6 separate regions of the Homo sapiens genome follow, and regions 1, 2, 3, 4 and 6 are each linked to region 5. The links are contacts of gene promoters, found by promoter capture Hi-C in blood cells and fetal thymus (Javierre and others, 2016). All regions are on one chromosome and are shown on one strand. The core of a region is centred on a gene start or on the middle of the fragment in contact, and the rest is flanking DNA. Distances in the headings are between cores, read along the strand shown.

Region 1 (2,700 bases), core at 34-2,533, 720 kb before region 5:
AGAGTGGCGCCCTACTTCCTTCTCAACCTAATCCAGTTATGTGTTTCTGGACACAGGAACTGTTCCATGGACAGCTCCCATGAATCCAGCCAGTCATTTAAAAAGTTAATTCAAGATCAGAAGAACTGGACACAATAAAAAATTCGGGTAATTCCATGCCCTCCATTAACACATTGGACCAGCAGGGTAGTGTCATGTCTGAATATAAAGGATAGGACATATGTATCAATCATTTCATCTGGGCTGACCTCCTTTGAGAACATTATGTCTGTTCTTATTCTACATAGTAAAGATAGATAACTCAGTATTTAAAAATAGGATTCCAAAAGACCATTTCCTTGGGGACACTTAAATTAGAGATCATAATGAGAACCTGGGGAGGTGACAGGAAGTGGTGATACCCTGAGTTCCCCTACGTCCTCCAAAAAAGATGCATCCATTGCTTTCCAGTGAATGGGCTTAGGAGAAAGAACAGCTTTGAAATAGGGAGAATCAAGAAGTTTGCTTGTAGCCATGCTGGGAAGATGGTAGGATGATGCAAATAAGTTTTAAGGACAGATGGAATCTACAATTAAGGTTTGGACAGCTTGGGAAGTATATTAGTTATCTATTGCCACCTAAAAAATTAGCCCAGAATATAATGGCTGAAAACAACAAGTTTATGTGAGTTAGGAATTGGGGAGCAGTTTAATTGGGTGGTTCTGACTCATGAGACTCATGAATTCCAGGAGGCAGGATTATTGGGGCTGTCTTAGATATGCCCTTTGCCAGTCTAGAAGAGTGTAGAAAAAGCTGAGCTTCAGTAAGCATCAAAACTGCCTTTATCAACAGGATAAAGAAATGGGTTGAAACAAGTATTAGACAAGTAGAGGCCCAGAGTCTTAGGGAACTTTCTGAAAGGAGGGAAGCATATGCAGAATAAGTACAAGGTGGTTTAAAGCTCAGATGCAGACTATGTGAGAGAACTTAGAAAACTGTCTTTCTCATCCAGAAGCCTAGAGTCTAAGGTGTGAACCAGGAGGACCAGGTTGGTTGTAGACTGCTATAAACACTTCCGCCAGAACATGAACTGGGAATGTCCACTGCGGGTGACCCTGGATGCTCACTGCAGGAGGGAGTGCATCTCTTACTAGGCAGGGAAGCAGGTTTTGAGAGGGAGTGAACTAAATCTGGTGTCAGCACCAACTCAAATCAGCCAGTTGAGAGATCAAAAGGAAGTATGGCTTTAAAACAGAATATATCGTCTAAAAGGTTTGAAATTTAATTTTAGAAAGCCCTTTAATGGCATCTATTCTACAGCACCTATGTTGGAGGGGGTATATGAGAGTAGAAGGAGGAGGAGTGGAGTATCCTGATGGCTTCACCAGCCATGTCAATATTTGGTTACAGTTCAGATCAAGTGAGACTTAGAAAAACATCCTTCTATATTCCTGTATCATTTTGCTTTCCTATCTATCCATTGGTTGATCAATCCATGTATTCATCAATCCATGCATTCATCCAATGTTTATTGATCATTTACTTTGTGCCTTGATTCTCTAAAGAAACAATAAAAACTGTTGGATTTTCAATTTATAAAATCGTGTGTTTTCCAAAAGTCATTAGCACACTATTCTGTTTCTGGAGTATATTATCACACTAATCAAGGAAAAGGGAACTAATATTTACTGAGGCTCAAAATCACACAATTAATAATTGGGCTGGGTGTGGTGGCTCACGCCTGTAGTCCCCGCACTTTGGAAAGCTGAGGTTGGTGAATCACTTGAGGTCTGGAGTTCGAGACCAGCCTGGCCAACATGGTGAAACCCCACCTCTACTAAAAATATAAAAATTAGCCGGGCATGGTGGTGCACACTTGTAATCCCAGCTACTTGGGAGGCTAAGGAGGGAGGATCACTTGAACCCTGGGGGTGGAGTTTGCAGTGAGCTGGGATCACACCACTGCACTCCAGCCCGGGCGACAGAACATGACTCTGTCTTAAAACAAAACAAAAAACATACAAGCAAACAACAACAACAAAAAAAATGATAAAACTGCAACTGAATTCAGGTTGGCCAGTCCTTTTGATTTACCTTTAAATAATTTATCTTTTCTTAATTCAGTAGCTTTCTCTCCTGACCTGCACTGGTTATTACTTCTTTTGAGAATACTATCATTGCTCCCAAGCAGACCTAAAATAATCCAAGAAAATTACATTAAAATATCGCCGTATCTTTTAAAAAAGTTAGACATAAGCACCCTTTTATGAACATTTATATTTGGTCTCACAGTATAATCATAAGAATTCCTATTAGAAGCCAGGCAAGGTGGCTCATGTCCATAATCCGAGCAACTTTGGAGGCTAAAGCAGGAGGATCACTTGAGGCCAGGAGTTTGATACCAGCCTGGGCAACATAGCGAGACCCCGTCTCTACAGAAAATTAAAAGAAAAAAAAGGACTCCTATTAGATTATGGGCACTTCAGCACAGTTTTTTGTGTGTGTACAAACAACAAACATTTTAAAACAACAGAAAATTGATTATCATGTAATTTTCCATACATAATACATACTATCATAGCATAAGCATAGAAGAAGTACAAGTAAGATTATCTACATGGTTATGAGCTGAAATTTGAATTCATATATCCAAAATATATAAATTTTGTCTCCCCAAAATTCATATGTTGAAGTCCTAACCCCCAATACCTCAGAATGTGA
Region 2 (2,700 bases), core at 118-2,617, 770 kb before region 5:
AGTGAGGCAACTAGCACACTACAGTGTTTCAAGTGCTATACTTTTTGCCATGCTATGACTTTTCATTTATTTATTTTATCACACTGTAACTGTAACAAGAGAATACAATGTGTGTGCAAATTACCAGACTAGGCACTTATCACAATATTCTCAACTCATAGGAAAGCAATAATAAGGAAAATCGGAAAAGTTAAGCATATTCTTACTATTGAGTTTAAGAAGAAAAAAGAAAAGTTAAAAAAAATTAAGCAGCAATATCTCAACACATAGCTGACATTATTTTTCTTTATTTTTATTTTTCTTTTCTGTTTTTCTTTTCTTTTCTTTTCTTTTCTTTTTTTTTTTTTTTTTTTTTTTTTGAGACGGAATTTCACTCTGTCCCCCAGGCTGGGGTGCAGTGGCATGATCTCAACTCACTGCAACCTCCGCCTCCCGAGATCAAGCGATTCTCCTGCCTCAGCCTCCCACGTAGCTGGGATTACGCGCGCGCGACACCATACCTGGCTAATTTTTGTATTTTTAGTAGAGACGGGGCTTCACCATGTTGGCCAGGCTGGTCCCGAACTCCTGACCTCAAGTGATCCACCCGCCTTGGCCTCTCAAAGTGCTGGGATTACAGGCGCGAGCCGCCACGCCCGGCCAACATAGCTGGATTTCTTTTTCTTCTCCCCTCCCCTCCCCTCCCCTTCCCTCCCCTCCCCTCCCCTCCCCTCCTCTCCCCTCTCCTTTTTTTCTCTTCCCTTCTCTTCTTTTCTTATCTTCTGTCGCCCAGGCTGGAGAGCAGTGGCACTATCACGGCTCACTGCAGTCTTGACCTCTCGGGCTCGCGTGATCTCCCACTTCAGCCTACCGAGTAGCTGGGACTACAGATGTGTGCCACCAGGCTCGGCTAATTTTTTGTAGTTTTTGTAGAGGCGAGGTTTCTCCATATTTCCCAGGCTGGTCTCGAACTCCTGGGCATCGGCCCTCCTCGGCCTCCCAAAGTGTTGGGATTACAGGTGTGAGCCGCTGCGCTCGGCCTGGATTTCTTCATAAAGATAAAATTGGAAATAAAATTGCAGCCCAAGTAAGCTTCCAAGTGGCTCATTTGTTCCTCAAATGAGGAAAGCCATTTGCGGATAGCGAATCAACAAATCATGTTTGTACTCATTTTCTCAGAAACGTATTCTGAGAAAATAATCTTTATGAAGAATGTTAACCTTTTTGCTAGGTGGGGTGGGACTTTGGGAAAAAACCCAACAGTTTATTAAAACAAACAAAGCAAGAAACCAAATTGTCCGGCAGAGGGCAGCATTACCCCACAGAGCCAAAACCTTTGCCAGGAGGAACCCGTGTTCATTGCCAAGATTGATTGATTTTGAGACAGAGGTTTGTCCTTGTTGCCCAGGCTGGAGTGCAATGGCGCAATCTCAGCTCATTGCAACCTCCGTCTCCCAGGTTCAAGCAATTCTTCTGCTTCAGCCTCCCGAGTAGCTGGGTTTACAGGCGCCTGCCACCATGACCGGCTAATTTTTTGTATTTTGGTAGAGATGGGGTTTCACCATGTTGGCCATTTTGGTCTCGAAATCCTGACCTCAGGTGATCCACCGACCTCAGGTGATCCATCCGCCTCGGCCTCCCAAAGTGCTGGGATTACAGGTGTGAGCCACCGTGCCCGGCTTGCCAAGCTTTATTAACTAACATTTGTGGTGCCAGGCTGTTATGGTGATTTCTTCCTATTAGCTTATTTAATCTTCATGAAAACCCTTCAAGATAGGTACTATTTTATTTTCATTTTACAAATAAGAAAACTGAAACTCAGAATGGCTAAGTGACTTTTACCTGGTTCACATATCAATTAAGGTCAAGCCTTTGGCTCCAGGACCTATGTTTTTATTGAAGTAAATGATTATAAAGTGCCTGCTATGCACTAGGCATGGTCTAAGCACTTCACATGCTTTAATTACTTTAATCTTTATGATAACCCCAAGATTTAGGTACTATTATTACCATTTCCATTGTACCGATAAAGAAACCAAGATAAAGAGGTGAAGGTGATCCTACCTTCCCAAGGGAACTCCCACTGTCAGGCTTGAGTCCACAGGAGAGGCTCTAGCTGCTCTACGTGGCAGCACTAGGGTGAAGGCAGTGAGGCTCCTACTGCTCTGGTTCTGGCTGGGTCACACATGTCGGGGATGGGTTGCCAGCTCCCTCAATAAACCCCTACCTAGTCTTCTGAGTGACTCAAATCAGGTATCTTTGGTAGAGTGGAGTGGGGAACAGTAATATATCTTTGAGTGGAGTGGGGACAGTAATATATCTTTGAGTAGAGTGGGATGGGGAACACTAATATGAGTCCCAGAGTCCCAGGATTGAGAACCTGCAGTTCTGATGTCAGAGAGCAGAAGTTGGATGTCCTAGCTCCAGAATAAAGAGCAAATTTGTCCTTCCCCTGTCTTTTTGTTCTGTTGAGACCTTCAAGGAATTGGAAGAATAATGCCTATCCACATTGGTGAGGACAGATCATTTTGACTCAGTCTAGTGGTTCAAATAGTAATACCTTCTACCCTGGGAGAAAGCAGTCCCTCCAGGGTCAGCAAGGCCCCAAGATGTCAAAGCATCAAAAATACAGAATAAAAAGGTCATAATTAACACAAGATGGACAAAAGCCTTCTTCACCCCAGCATCTAGAAGTGTTCTTTTTTTTTTGACAGAACCTTG
Region 3 (2,700 bases), core at 166-2,665, 750 kb before region 5:
CTGTGGTTGAAGACTGGTTTTTGTTTGTTTCTTTCTTTCTTTTTGAGACGGAGTCTTGCTCTGTCGCCCAGGCTGGAGTGCAGTGGCATGATCTCGGCTCACTGCAACCTCCAGCTCCCAGGTTCAAGCAATTCTCCTGCCTCAGCCTCCTGATAGCTGGGATTACAGGTGTGTGCCACCATGATGGTCTAATTTTTGTATTTTTAGTAGCGATAGGGTTTCACCCTGATGGCCAGGCTGGTCTTGAACTGCTGACCTCAGGTGATCCTCCCGCCTCAGCCTCCCACTGTGCTGAGATTACCCATGTGAGCCACTGCGCCTGGCCAGTTTGTTTTTTGAGACTAGGTCTCATGTGTCATCCAGGCTGGAGTGCAGTGGCAAGATCTGGCACATTGCAACCTCCACCTCCTGGGCTAAAGTGATCCTTCCACCGCAGCCCCCTGAGTAGCTGGGACTACAGGCGTGCACCACCATGCCCGGCTAATTTTTGTATTTTTTGTAGAAATGGTGTTTTGCCATGTTGGCCAGGCTAGTTTTGAACTCCTGGGCTCAAGTGATCCACGTGTCTCGGCCTAAGTATTGGGATTACAGGCGTGATCTACTGTGCCCTGCTGACATAACTGTTAATATTAGTCCTTTTCACTCTCAGAATCGTTCCTGTTTGGGTGCTAGATTTTGCAGCCACCCCCATAAGGCAGGAAAAAACATGCAGGCTCTGGTAATAGAGTAGTTGTGAGGGTGAGGGAGAAGGAACCACAAGGATGACTTCCAGTTTCTGGCTTGCAGACCAAAAGGGAACGTGGTGCTGTTCCAGGAAACGGTCCCGATAATAGCTCAGACCCTAAGAGAGTGTTCTTGATCTTGTGTAAGAAAGAATTCAGGACGAGTTTGTAAAGTGAAAGCAAGTTTACTAGGAAAGTGGAGGAATAAAAGAACGGCTACTCCATAGACAGAGCAGACCAGCTACTCCGAGAGCTGCTGGTTGCCTATTTCTATGGTTATTTTTTGATGATATTCTAAACAACGGGTGCATTATTTATGTCTCCCATTTTTAGGCTATATAGGGTAACTTCCTGACATTGCCATGACATTTGTAAACTGCCATGGTGCTGGTAGGAGCGTAGCAGTGAGGATGACCAGAGGTCACTCTCATTGCCATCTTGGTATTGGTGGGTTTTGGCTGGCTTCTTTACTGCAGTCTGTTCTGTCAGCAAGGTCTTTATGACCTGTATCTTGTGCTGACTTCTTATCTCATCCTGTGACTTAGAATGCCTTAAGTGTCTGGGAATGCAGCCCAGTAGGCCTCAGCCTTATTTTACCCAGCCTCTATTAAGATGGAGTTGCTCTGGTTCCAATGCCTCTGACAGTAGGAATTTGGGAATGAGTTTTAACAAATACTTGGAAACTGAAACTCAGAGTGAGAGACTAGAAAGAGAGCAAATGCTGTAAAGAGAAATGACCACAAAGGGAAATTAGGAGAAACAAAACTGGAACCAAATGGAGCACCATTCTCTGGATGGTTGATTCTGTGAAAAATTAAAATGGAAATCTATTGAGCATTTGGAGCCAGAGAATGATAGGATACTGCTCTGAGAATTTACTGGGGAATTTGAGAGTTTTAGAAGATAACTAAAGTATTCAGAGACTCATGAAATGACTGTATGTGAATATATATCTTCCTGTTAAAATTATATATAGGTTAAATGTATTTCTGTTAATCAAAATTAATCTTCTCATTGACTTACATTCTAATTGAAAAACCTCTTTGTTCTCCTTTAGTGAAACCCTTAATCAGTAGCATTTGACACTCAGAACTTTTTTGTCTACCGACTCCTTTCTCTTCAAGAGTTAATCTAGTGCAACCCTTAATTATCCCCAGAGCTATTATTAAAAGAATCTGTAAATGGAAGCATTTTTAAAGCCAAGAATCTTAGTAATTTTATTCTGATCAGAGTTTATAAGATCAGAGTTTTACACTTTGACATCTTATTATATGAAGATGAAATAAAACCATTAAGAGGAAACACAATGTAAGTTAGTGATCAGACTTTTGTATTAGTCCATTGACCCCAAAATCTGACTTGCTTATAGGGTTGTGTTATATTTGAGTTTTAGTTATAATTTTGCTACTTATTAGATTTAGAGGAATTAGTTAAATCTCCCTTATCTTCAACTTCTTCATGAATAAAATAAAAATAACTAACTCATGAGGTTTCTATGATATTTAAATGAAACAATAGCTATATAGTGATTAGTACTTTGTAGTTACTCAATGTGTTTTATTAACTAATATTATTATAATAAAGAGTTTCTGTTTGAGGAGATGAAATATTTTGGAAATAGTGGTGATAGTTGTACAACATTATGAATATAATTAATGCCATTGAATTGTATGCTTAAAATTTCTAAAATGGCAATAAAACAATAAAAATATATAAAATACAATAATTACATATTTGCAGTTTAAAACCTATTATGTTTGACAATATATTTCTGAATTTCAGTTTCAGAAATCTAGAGGAATACTCTCCTACACCATGAGACAACTGATATTTAGTGCAAGCCATGGTGAGCACTTGCCCTCTTTTAGTATTGGGTCGGTGCAAAACTCATTGCGGTTTTTGCTATGAAAAGCAATGGCTTTTTAAAGGTCTGGTCTGGCAACAGAGTCAGCTCTTAAAATGTTAAATTCCTAACTTT
Region 4 (2,700 bases), core at 27-2,526, 730 kb before region 5:
CTAAAAGTGAACAAAAATTTTTTATTATCTCTTATTATTACTTTACAAAAATCTTGTTTAAAAGAGAAAACCAAAGTTTGCTTTTGTATTAATGAATTATCAATATTAAAGCTGATTTTAATAAAACCTTATAAACAAACTAATCTCAGTCAGCTTTTGACCATGCAGATTTCATAAATGTTTTATAATCTCTTACAAAATTTTAAAAATTCTTTTTCTTCCTGACTTTTAATATTATTTAGTTTTATTTATATCTTTTAAAATTCTTTTATCGTAAAATAATATTTAAGTAACTTCTAAACTGGACAAAGTAATTTTTTCTCAACAGCTATGTATTTGTATTCTTTTACAGCTTTTTTTTAATCAAAGCATGTCTTTTTTGTTAGTACACTTTGTATATAGAATTCTCTTATATATGTAGTTTTAATTACATATGTTAACTATAATTTTAACTCTTAGTCACCCTAATTTTCAGTAAAAGTCTAAAAAGTAATTCTGAACTGTTTTATATCAGTATTTATAGATGAAAACCATTTTATAATTTTTACAAAGATATGTTTGCTCAAATTTTTGTTCATTAACAGATCTACATATATTTAGCTTTTTTATATCACAGAAAAATAAGATGCCAAATTATATAAACTTAAATTTATGTTTAATAATTAATGTTTTAGTATTTTAACATACTTGTAAAAAAACTCAGACATTTTATGATTATCTGGTACTTAATTTAAAATAATATGACTTTAAGATTTAAATTACTGAAAAGAATATTAATACTATGATACAAGTACCCTTTCTAATGTTTTTCCCAGTCATCCTGGGTCTCAAGTAGCCACATGACACCTAGGATGGCTATAAGGGGAGGTCCCATCTGGGTCCTAAATTTACATACTAGGTATAGAATTCAGGACAGAAGACAGCTATGAAGATGATGACTGGAGCATTCAGCCCTTCACAGAATGGCCAGGAGGCAAAGCTGGGCCAGGGAGAAAGGGGTCATTTTGAGCTTGACTGTGCCCTGTAGGTGGTGATATAGACACTGAGGACATGTCCCCATATGTTACCAAGGTCACCTGTCTGGACCCCAGAATCCAGAGGCTCGGAAAACAAAAACATAAGCTCACAGTCAAATCAAGCAAATATCAAAAACATAACAGAAGCAGAAGTTTTATGACCTTAAAGCTTGAAGCAGAGATAGCATAAACCTGTCTGACCAGTAGACTCAGGCATAAATATCTATATTATCTTTAAGTGACAATTCTGAAGTCATTTTTTTATTTTATTTTACCAACAATTTAAAAACTAGCTTTCTTCACCAAATAGTATCACATACACATATAGACATATAGACACAAGCAGGTCTTAAAGCTTCCATGAAGAATTCTCATTTGTCAGCTTTCAAATAGTTTTTCTTTTCCCCATTCATACTATCAGTCTTAGAACTATCTGTTTTATTGCTCTAAGTAGTTGTTAGCTACTCCACAATCTGCCTCCTAAAGGGATGACTCTTAGGTGAAACAAGGTAGAAAATTCTCAAAAGCACAGAGCTGAGATTTTAGGCCTAAATATTGTACTATCAGTTGCTCAAACCAAGGGAAAAGATTGTACATAAAGATCCGGTTAAGGCAGCATGGCCTGGAAAAGCACCTTAAACAAAGGCAAGACAATGTATGTACATTTAAAACAACAGTAAGAGTTTCTAGTGACCCAGTCCTCCCTCTCAGACACCCTTTCAAATGGAAATTTCTTTTAGAGATATAAATTTCTCCTATAAAAGTGTTTTGGGGCCAGGCGCGGCGTCTCACATCTGTAATCCCAGCACTTTGGGAGGCCGAGGCGCGCGGATCATGAGGTCAGGAGATCGAGACCATCCTGGCTAACATGGTGAAACCCCGTCTCTACTAAAAATAGAAAAAATTAGCCAGGTGTGGTGGTGGGCACCTGTAGTCCCAGCTACTCGGGAGGCTGAGGCAGGAGAATGGCGTGAACCCGGGAGGTGATGGTTGCAGTGAGCTGAGATCGCGCCACTGCACTCCAGACTGGGCAACAGAGTGAGACTCCATCTCTGAAAAAAAAAAAGTGTTTTAAGATAGCCAGCTAAATGCCAGAAAAGTATATTTTAGAGACTGTTTTAGTTTAATAGGTGGTCTTCTTAACTTAGCTACTTTTTCTTAGCTAAAACTACTGAGTTCAGGATGGAGCTCATTAAGAAACACAGCAATTAAAGCATTCTCTATACCTGGACTTAGCATGGATAGCTTTGAAAAAGAATCAAGGCCATTTAATCTGAGGGCCTACTTTTTATAAACACTGTATCCAGGATAGCTTTCTTTTTGCCTTTGGTTGGGATATGTGTAAGGAAAATAAATCTTAGGACCCCAAATCACTGAGCCAAGGGAAAAGTCAAGCTGGGACCTATGTCAGGCACCCTGCCTCCCATTTCATTCCTAAATAAGATAGCTACAAAGATAAAAAGTGACATACCTCCCTCACAATTTGCCCACAAGGAAATTCTTGGTGGACAACGGAAAGATAGAACTCCAAGTCTCCTTCTGAGGCTCACCTTAGACAAATGCATATCTGATTGCTTCCTCTGCCCTATTGTTTATGTAAAAATGAAGATTCACTGAGCCAGACTATATTTTGTATCCAGTGGAAGGCTCATCAAGGACTCAAAATAATGCAACCTTTTGTTTT
Region 5 (2,700 bases), core at 1-2,500:
CGTAGGAATCTTTCTGACCCATACCGACCATGACGCCCTGCAGAGCCGAGACACCACGCACCCGTTAACGCCGCTCCGGGTGGCACCAGGCTGGCTTACGCGGGGACCCCGAGCCGGCTCCCTCTGCGGAGGGGCAGCCTGACCTGGTGTCGGGGGCGGCCCACGATGGACGGGAACACGGCCCTAGGGGCGTCATCCCCGGCGAAGCCGGCTTTCACCAGGCCGGAGCCATTGTCGCACACGAGGGCGGTGGTCTCGTCTTCGTCGCACATTGTGTCTAGTTTCTGCAAGGACAGGGAGACCGCGAAGAGGCGCGGTGCATCAGCGCAGAAGTCTCAGCGGCAGGGGGGGGTAAGCCTGGCTGGCCCCGACGTCCTCCCTCCCCAGGAACCTAGGGACATCTCCTGCCGGAGCCACTCAAATTCTGCCAGGGCGGCGACCAGGGGTTCTCTTCTCGACCTTTGCCCCGGCTAAGGGCTGCCCTGAACCAGGAAAAGGGGCACAGGGTCGCGAGACCCCACTGAGAAGTCCTCTGTCCACATAGCCAGGGGAACATGTTCCCCAAGACCTGTCTGCCCTCCCTGCCTGACACCTGTTCCAGGAGCTGGACGCTAGTGCCCATCCTCTCTGCGCCTCCCTGACCACATCTGTCACCTAGGGAGATAAGGCCTCAGCACTGCCTGCTTGCTGGGCCAGCGTGAGGGTGGAAGGAGATGCCCATGGGAAAGGCGTTGGCACCCCATCCAGGGAAGAGTGGCCTGTTAGGAACCCTGTGACATTTCAAACTCAGAAAGGGCCTTTTCGCCTGTTGGAAACCCAGAATGGGTGGTCCTGGCTGCTCGCTCATTCGCTCTAGCGCTAGTTTGGAAGGGAACTGCCTTGGCGACAACTAAAGCAAAACCGTTTATCTCCCTAGGCACATCCTACATGCCAGGTAAAGGAGCCCAAAGGGGCTAGAGAAAAATTTGGAGAAGTCTAATTTCCAGAGGCTGACTGTCTTGCCTCCTTTTTAAAGCGCGTGTGGCTCCGGAGACGAGGCACAGCGCTCAGGGCGCAGGCCTGGGGCTGACCAGGTGAACCGACTGGGTTCTGCCCCGGAGTCCTTCAGGTTCCCCTCGGTAGTGCCCTGTCCCCCTGTCCCCTCCCAACTCCTGCCCTACCTGGGCGGGTAGCTACAACTGCTACTCTCGGCTCGGGCCCTGGTCGCCGCGGAGGGGAAGCGAGGCTTCACTTGGCGCTGTCCGCTGCGGTGGCCGCTTGTCCCTCTGCTCAGGTTTTATATAGCCCGCGGGCATTCCCTCCGCGCCACCCCGCAGGAATGTCGCTGCCCTTCTCGAGCCATATTTGGGTGTTGGGCACTAGAGCCCCCTCCCTCGGCCGGTTCGCGGCCTGGGCCCCCGCCCGGGTCCCCTGCGTTGACCAAAGAAGGAGCGGGTTGGCCCGGTCCCAGGTAACGCGGGCCGGGCCGTATATGGAGTGTCTCCCTAGCGGGTTTGCCCCTCCTGACCCGACCCAGTTGCCCGCCGGAGGGGATGGGGTGGGGCGAGGGTCACCGCGTTCGCCGGTGGGTGCATGTGTGCGCCTGCGCTCCGGGAACCGCACCTGTCCCAAAGGCCTCCCCAACCATGTCCACTCTGAGCGCCCTGGGCGCTCGGGAAGGTGCCTGACTGCTGACTTCCAATATTTCAACTCCTCTTCGGGTTCTTTGCTCAGATCCCCAAACTCCCACTTGCGACTACCGGGAAGAGGGAGTCGTGTGGAGTGGTGGGCTTGGGAGGATTGGAGAAGCAGTCACTCCTGAGTCTCAGGAAGGGAAGGAAGGCGAACTCCCTCTCCTTTACGCCCCTGGAACTCCATTTCTCTCTTCCCACCCCCGAGCTCCCTGAATCCAAAAAGCTGAGCCACGTCGACCCCTTCCCCCACCGCACAGAGGGCCACCGGCGGCCGGAGGGCGCGCAGCTGTCGCAGGATAGACAACTGGCGGGGGGAGGCGAGGGCGGAGCGCCGGGGAGGAGGCGCGGGGGCTCCCGGGGATAGGCCTGTCAGGCGCAAAGCCTGAGCACACGGAGCTGTCCGCCTCAGGGACGCGCAGCGCCCTTGGGTCTCCTAAAGGGATTGAAGGGGTGAGGGTTCCCCTCCTGTAGGACGCACTGGCCCCAGGTTTTGGTGGGCTGAGGCCCTCCCCCAGCCTCTTTGGTGGCACTATGTGTGTCCCTCTCCTGGGGCTGAAAGACAAGGGTCACAACCCAGGACTGGCTAGACCTGGAGTGGAGGTGGAGATGGGTGAGGGGCTCTTCCTAGATGAGGCTTAGCTGGTCCTTCCTCCCAATAAATTGGAGGGGGTGGGGGGACAAGGACGCGGCACTCTAGGATGGGTGGCAGTTTTTCCTTCTGCAAAGGCTGAACAAACTCATCTTTATATTTAGAGGATGATGCCTGCCAAGGCCGGGCTGCCTCCCAGTCCACCTTGTAGTCATCATTTACCAGAGCCTGCTGCAGGTTCTATTTATATCACTGATATATGGGGCTATGCCTTTCAGATTTTCTAGAAGGATTTGGAGCTACTTATGGTAAAGTAGAGTGGGGGTCAGCAGAGGTTACCCAGTTGGTGCCTGTCCCTCTCTCTCTCTCTCTCTCTCTCTCTCTCTCTCTCTCTCTCTCTCTCTCTCCTTTTTCCCTAAGACAAGGACAGTTCTAACC
Region 6 (2,700 bases), core at 186-2,685, 700 kb before region 5:
TACACCCAAACAACCTGTTTGGGTCTCCCCAACTTCACTTTCTTTGGCTGATCCCCAAAATCTTCATGGCCTCTTCAAAGTCACTCAATATGAGGGTAAGTTACAGTTTAAAAAGACAGTGAACATAACTGGTGGTGATTAAAATACTTTTTTTTTTTTCAAAATTTACAGAAACATATTACCACGTGTACACATTGCTAGGTCTTCCAATGTGAAAGTGTCCTTTGCAAGTCAGGGGTCCTGGATTCAAGCTTCTAACTTCTTGATAAATCCATCTCTGCATTCTGACCATGGCCATACGTTCAAGATTACGTTTATCATACTGACTTATTTTTGCCTCCAGGATTTTGGTTAGAAGCTCAGGCTCTGGGGCTAGACTATTTGGGTTTGGATCCTGGCATTGCCACTTACTAGCTTGTGGAATCCCAAAACGTTACTTAATATCTCTGTGCCTCAGGTGTTCTCATCTGTAAGTAATGTTAAGATTAAAAGAATTAGTTCTTGAAGAGTGCTTACAACAGTATCTGACACATTATGAAAGTTCAGTATTTGTTATTGTTATTTTTACTACCACTAGTATCAATGTGTATTAATAATATGTGGCCCTTCTCACACCACGCTGTACACCCCCAGGACTCTTGGTATTCTGACTTGGCTAAGAGGCGTCCTTTTTCTGAATAGACTGTTGACCACATGTAGAAGGAAGGCAGAGAGAGAAATGAATCAAAGGGAAACGGAATATTTTTTCAGACATATTAATGTCTCCGAATTACCTTTAAGTAAATGAAGGAATTGGGGGTATAAAAAAATTTCTGGAGCATACATGTATAAAGGTTCACGGCATGCCGAAAGACAAAGTCAAAGGAGCATTCACAATGGAGCTGGCATCCTTTTGCTTCAAAATGAGAAAAAATCACACGATCAGCTGCAGTTAGACTTAAGGAAAAAAGCTGTCTGTTAATTCAATCTCATTCGCAGGACAGGCCTCCAGGACACTTCATTTTTCCCCCTGGGTGGAGCCGTGGCCAGCCGGGGGCTCCACGGAGTGAATAGGAGGCGGCTCAGGCTTCCTGGCTCGCGTGGGCGCCAGAAAGCGGAACCTCCCGGGCCAGTCGCGCGGTGGTCACCCTCTTGGGAGCTGGGGAGGAGGCTGCGGAGGCTGGCCCGGCTCCTTCGGGCGTCGCTTCCCGGACCGGGTGCGCGGGGTCCCCCGGAACGTGTGTTCCAGGTCCTCCCGCGCCAGTGTTCGCAGTCCCCGCCTGGTCGCGGCGGCGCCTCGGGCGCGGGTGCAGGCGCGCGGCGCGCAGGCGGGGGGCGCTGTGGTCTTGGCGCGGGGACCGAGCCGCTCGGCCAGACCCGCCTCTTTTCCCTCCCCGCCAGCCCGCCCGCCTGCCCGCCCCCCACGCGTCGTGTCGCCGGGAAGCCGGGCGGAGACAGAGCGCTTGGGATCCACGGCGCTCGGACCGCTGTCCTCCAACAGCGCAGGGCAGAGCGGCTGGCGCCGCCGGAGCGCGGAGCCACGACCCTCCCTGGCCGCCTTTGTCTACTGGCCGTGCGGCCCGGAACCGCCACTCTCCAGGGCCGGGGACGCGCCCGCAGCTGTCGGTGACAGCTCCTCCCTACCGCAACCCTCCGGGGCGGAGGGGCGGTCGGGCCGGGCCCTGCTAGCCCGCGACCGCAAGCCCGCGCTCGCGGATCGATGCCCCCGCAGCAGGGGGACCCCGCGTTCCCCGACCGCTGCGAGGCGCCTCCGGTGCCGCCGCGTCGGGAGCGCGGTGGACGCGGGGGACGCGGGCCTGGGGAGCCGGGGGGCCGGGGGCGTGCGGGGGGTGCCGAGGGGCGCGGCGTCAAGTGCGTGCTGGTCGGCGACGGCGCGGTGGGCAAGACGAGCCTGGTGGTGAGCTACACCACCAACGGCTACCCCACCGAGTACATCCCTACTGCCTTCGACAACTTCTCCGGTGAGCTGGCCGGGGGGCCGGGGCCGGGGGCGCGTGGCCGCGGTCCACCCAGGGGAAGGAAGGTGGCGCGAGGGTCGCGAGGTTCCCAAGGGGGCTGCAGGGCCCCGGGCGCGGCTCCAGCTGGGAAGCCGGACAAATGAGGAGTGCAGGACGTTTCCTGAGTCTCAGGGACCGGGCAAGCGCGGAGCTAACACGAAAGGACCACGGCGGAGTGGGCTTGGAGAGAGGAGGGCGGAGCGGCAGTCAGAGCCTTGCCAAAAAAAAAAAAAAAAAAAATCTCACAATTTAAGCAACAGATAAGTAGGAGTGAAACAGGTTGAGTTCAGGGTGCCCGGTCAGTTTGTTGCATAGAGCAAAGTTTCCTGAGGGCGACGTCGCTGGCGCCGCTGCAGAGTTTCAATCAGAAGGTGACGCGCAGGTGCCTTTACCTGAGCGTCGCTCCTTTGCTTTTAGGCGGCTCAGCTCACAAGGGGCGTCTCCGCTTTAAAGAGCCGCGGAGACGCCGGGAAAACACTTGATTTAGTGAAAAAGCGCGAGCGGCCCTCGTGAAGGCTTAGGTTTGGATGAAACCTGAAGAGTAAACACCATTTCTTTCTTCTGAGCCCCACCACCTTCCCTGCCCACATGGGCTCGGATTCTGATTGTTGGTATCTTTTCAGGATCCCTTTAAGCTACTTAAAGCTCCTATGTACCGGGTGCGATGCCATTTCCCTTGGTAGATACAAAGAGAAAGGAATTC

Evidence for each region. Contacts are between HindIII fragments. The CHiCAGO score rates a contact against its expected background, and 5 or more counts as called.
Region 1: a fragment that was not itself captured here is called in contact with the fragment with the promoter of ACTA1 in region 5 in 5 of 17 cell types (total CD8 T cells, non-activated CD4 T cells, total CD4 T cells and 2 more); the score reaches 6.4 in total CD8 T cells.
Region 2: a contact is called between a fragment that was not itself captured here and the fragment with the promoter of ACTA1 in region 5, in 14 of 17 cell types (M2 macrophages, M0 macrophages, total CD8 T cells and 11 more). The highest score is 11.8, in M2 macrophages.
Region 3: a fragment that was not itself captured here is called in contact with the fragment with the promoter of ACTA1 in region 5 in 1 of 17 cell types (total CD4 T cells); the score reaches 5.6 in total CD4 T cells.
Region 4: a contact is called between a fragment that was not itself captured here and the fragment with the promoter of ACTA1 in region 5, in 9 of 17 cell types (total CD8 T cells, naive CD4 T cells, naive CD8 T cells and 6 more). The highest score is 12.1, in total CD8 T cells.
Region 6: the fragment with the promoter of RHOU here is called in contact with the fragment with the promoter of ACTA1 in region 5 in 17 of 17 cell types (naive CD8 T cells, total CD4 T cells, non-activated CD4 T cells and 14 more); the score reaches 22.6 in naive CD8 T cells.

The regions. Positions count from the first base shown.
Region 1 is chr1:228,717,750-228,720,449 of GRCh38, forward strand. It overlaps a transcript of RHOU not described here. Among named protein-coding and RNA genes, the nearest start is that of RHOU, 16 kb to the right of the region's middle. The HindIII fragment of the contact is 4,933 bases long and covers 1-2,700 here.
Region 2 is chr1:228,663,292-228,665,991 of GRCh38, forward strand. It overlaps a transcript of RHOU not described here. Among named protein-coding and RNA genes, the nearest start is that of RHOU, 71 kb to the right of the region's middle. The HindIII fragment of the contact is 596 bases long and covers 1,070-1,665 here.
Region 3 is chr1:228,684,012-228,686,711 of GRCh38, forward strand. It overlaps a transcript of RHOU not described here. Among named protein-coding and RNA genes, the nearest start is that of RHOU, 50 kb to the right of the region's middle. The HindIII fragment of the contact is 9,589 bases long and covers 1-2,700 here.
Region 4 is chr1:228,701,457-228,704,156 of GRCh38, forward strand. It overlaps a transcript of RHOU not described here. Among named protein-coding and RNA genes, the nearest start is that of RHOU, 33 kb to the right of the region's middle. The HindIII fragment of the contact is 186 bases long and covers 1,184-1,369 here.
Region 5 is chr1:229,432,844-229,435,543 of GRCh38, forward strand. It overlaps ACTA1 (actin alpha 1, skeletal muscle), which reads right to left and starts at 1,251. Exons shown (of 7, transcript NM_001100.4): 1 at 1,161-1,251; 2 at 144-284; 3 at 1-37. The coding sequence starts at 272. RefSeq lists a silencer at 959-1,253. The HindIII fragment of the contact is 9,477 bases long and covers 1-2,700 here.
Region 6 is chr1:228,734,044-228,736,743 of GRCh38, forward strand. It overlaps RHOU (ras homolog family member U), which reads left to right and starts at 1,436. Exons shown (of 3, transcript NM_021205.6): 1 at 1,436-1,961. The coding sequence starts at 1,700. The HindIII fragment of the contact is 4,915 bases long and covers 250-2,700 here.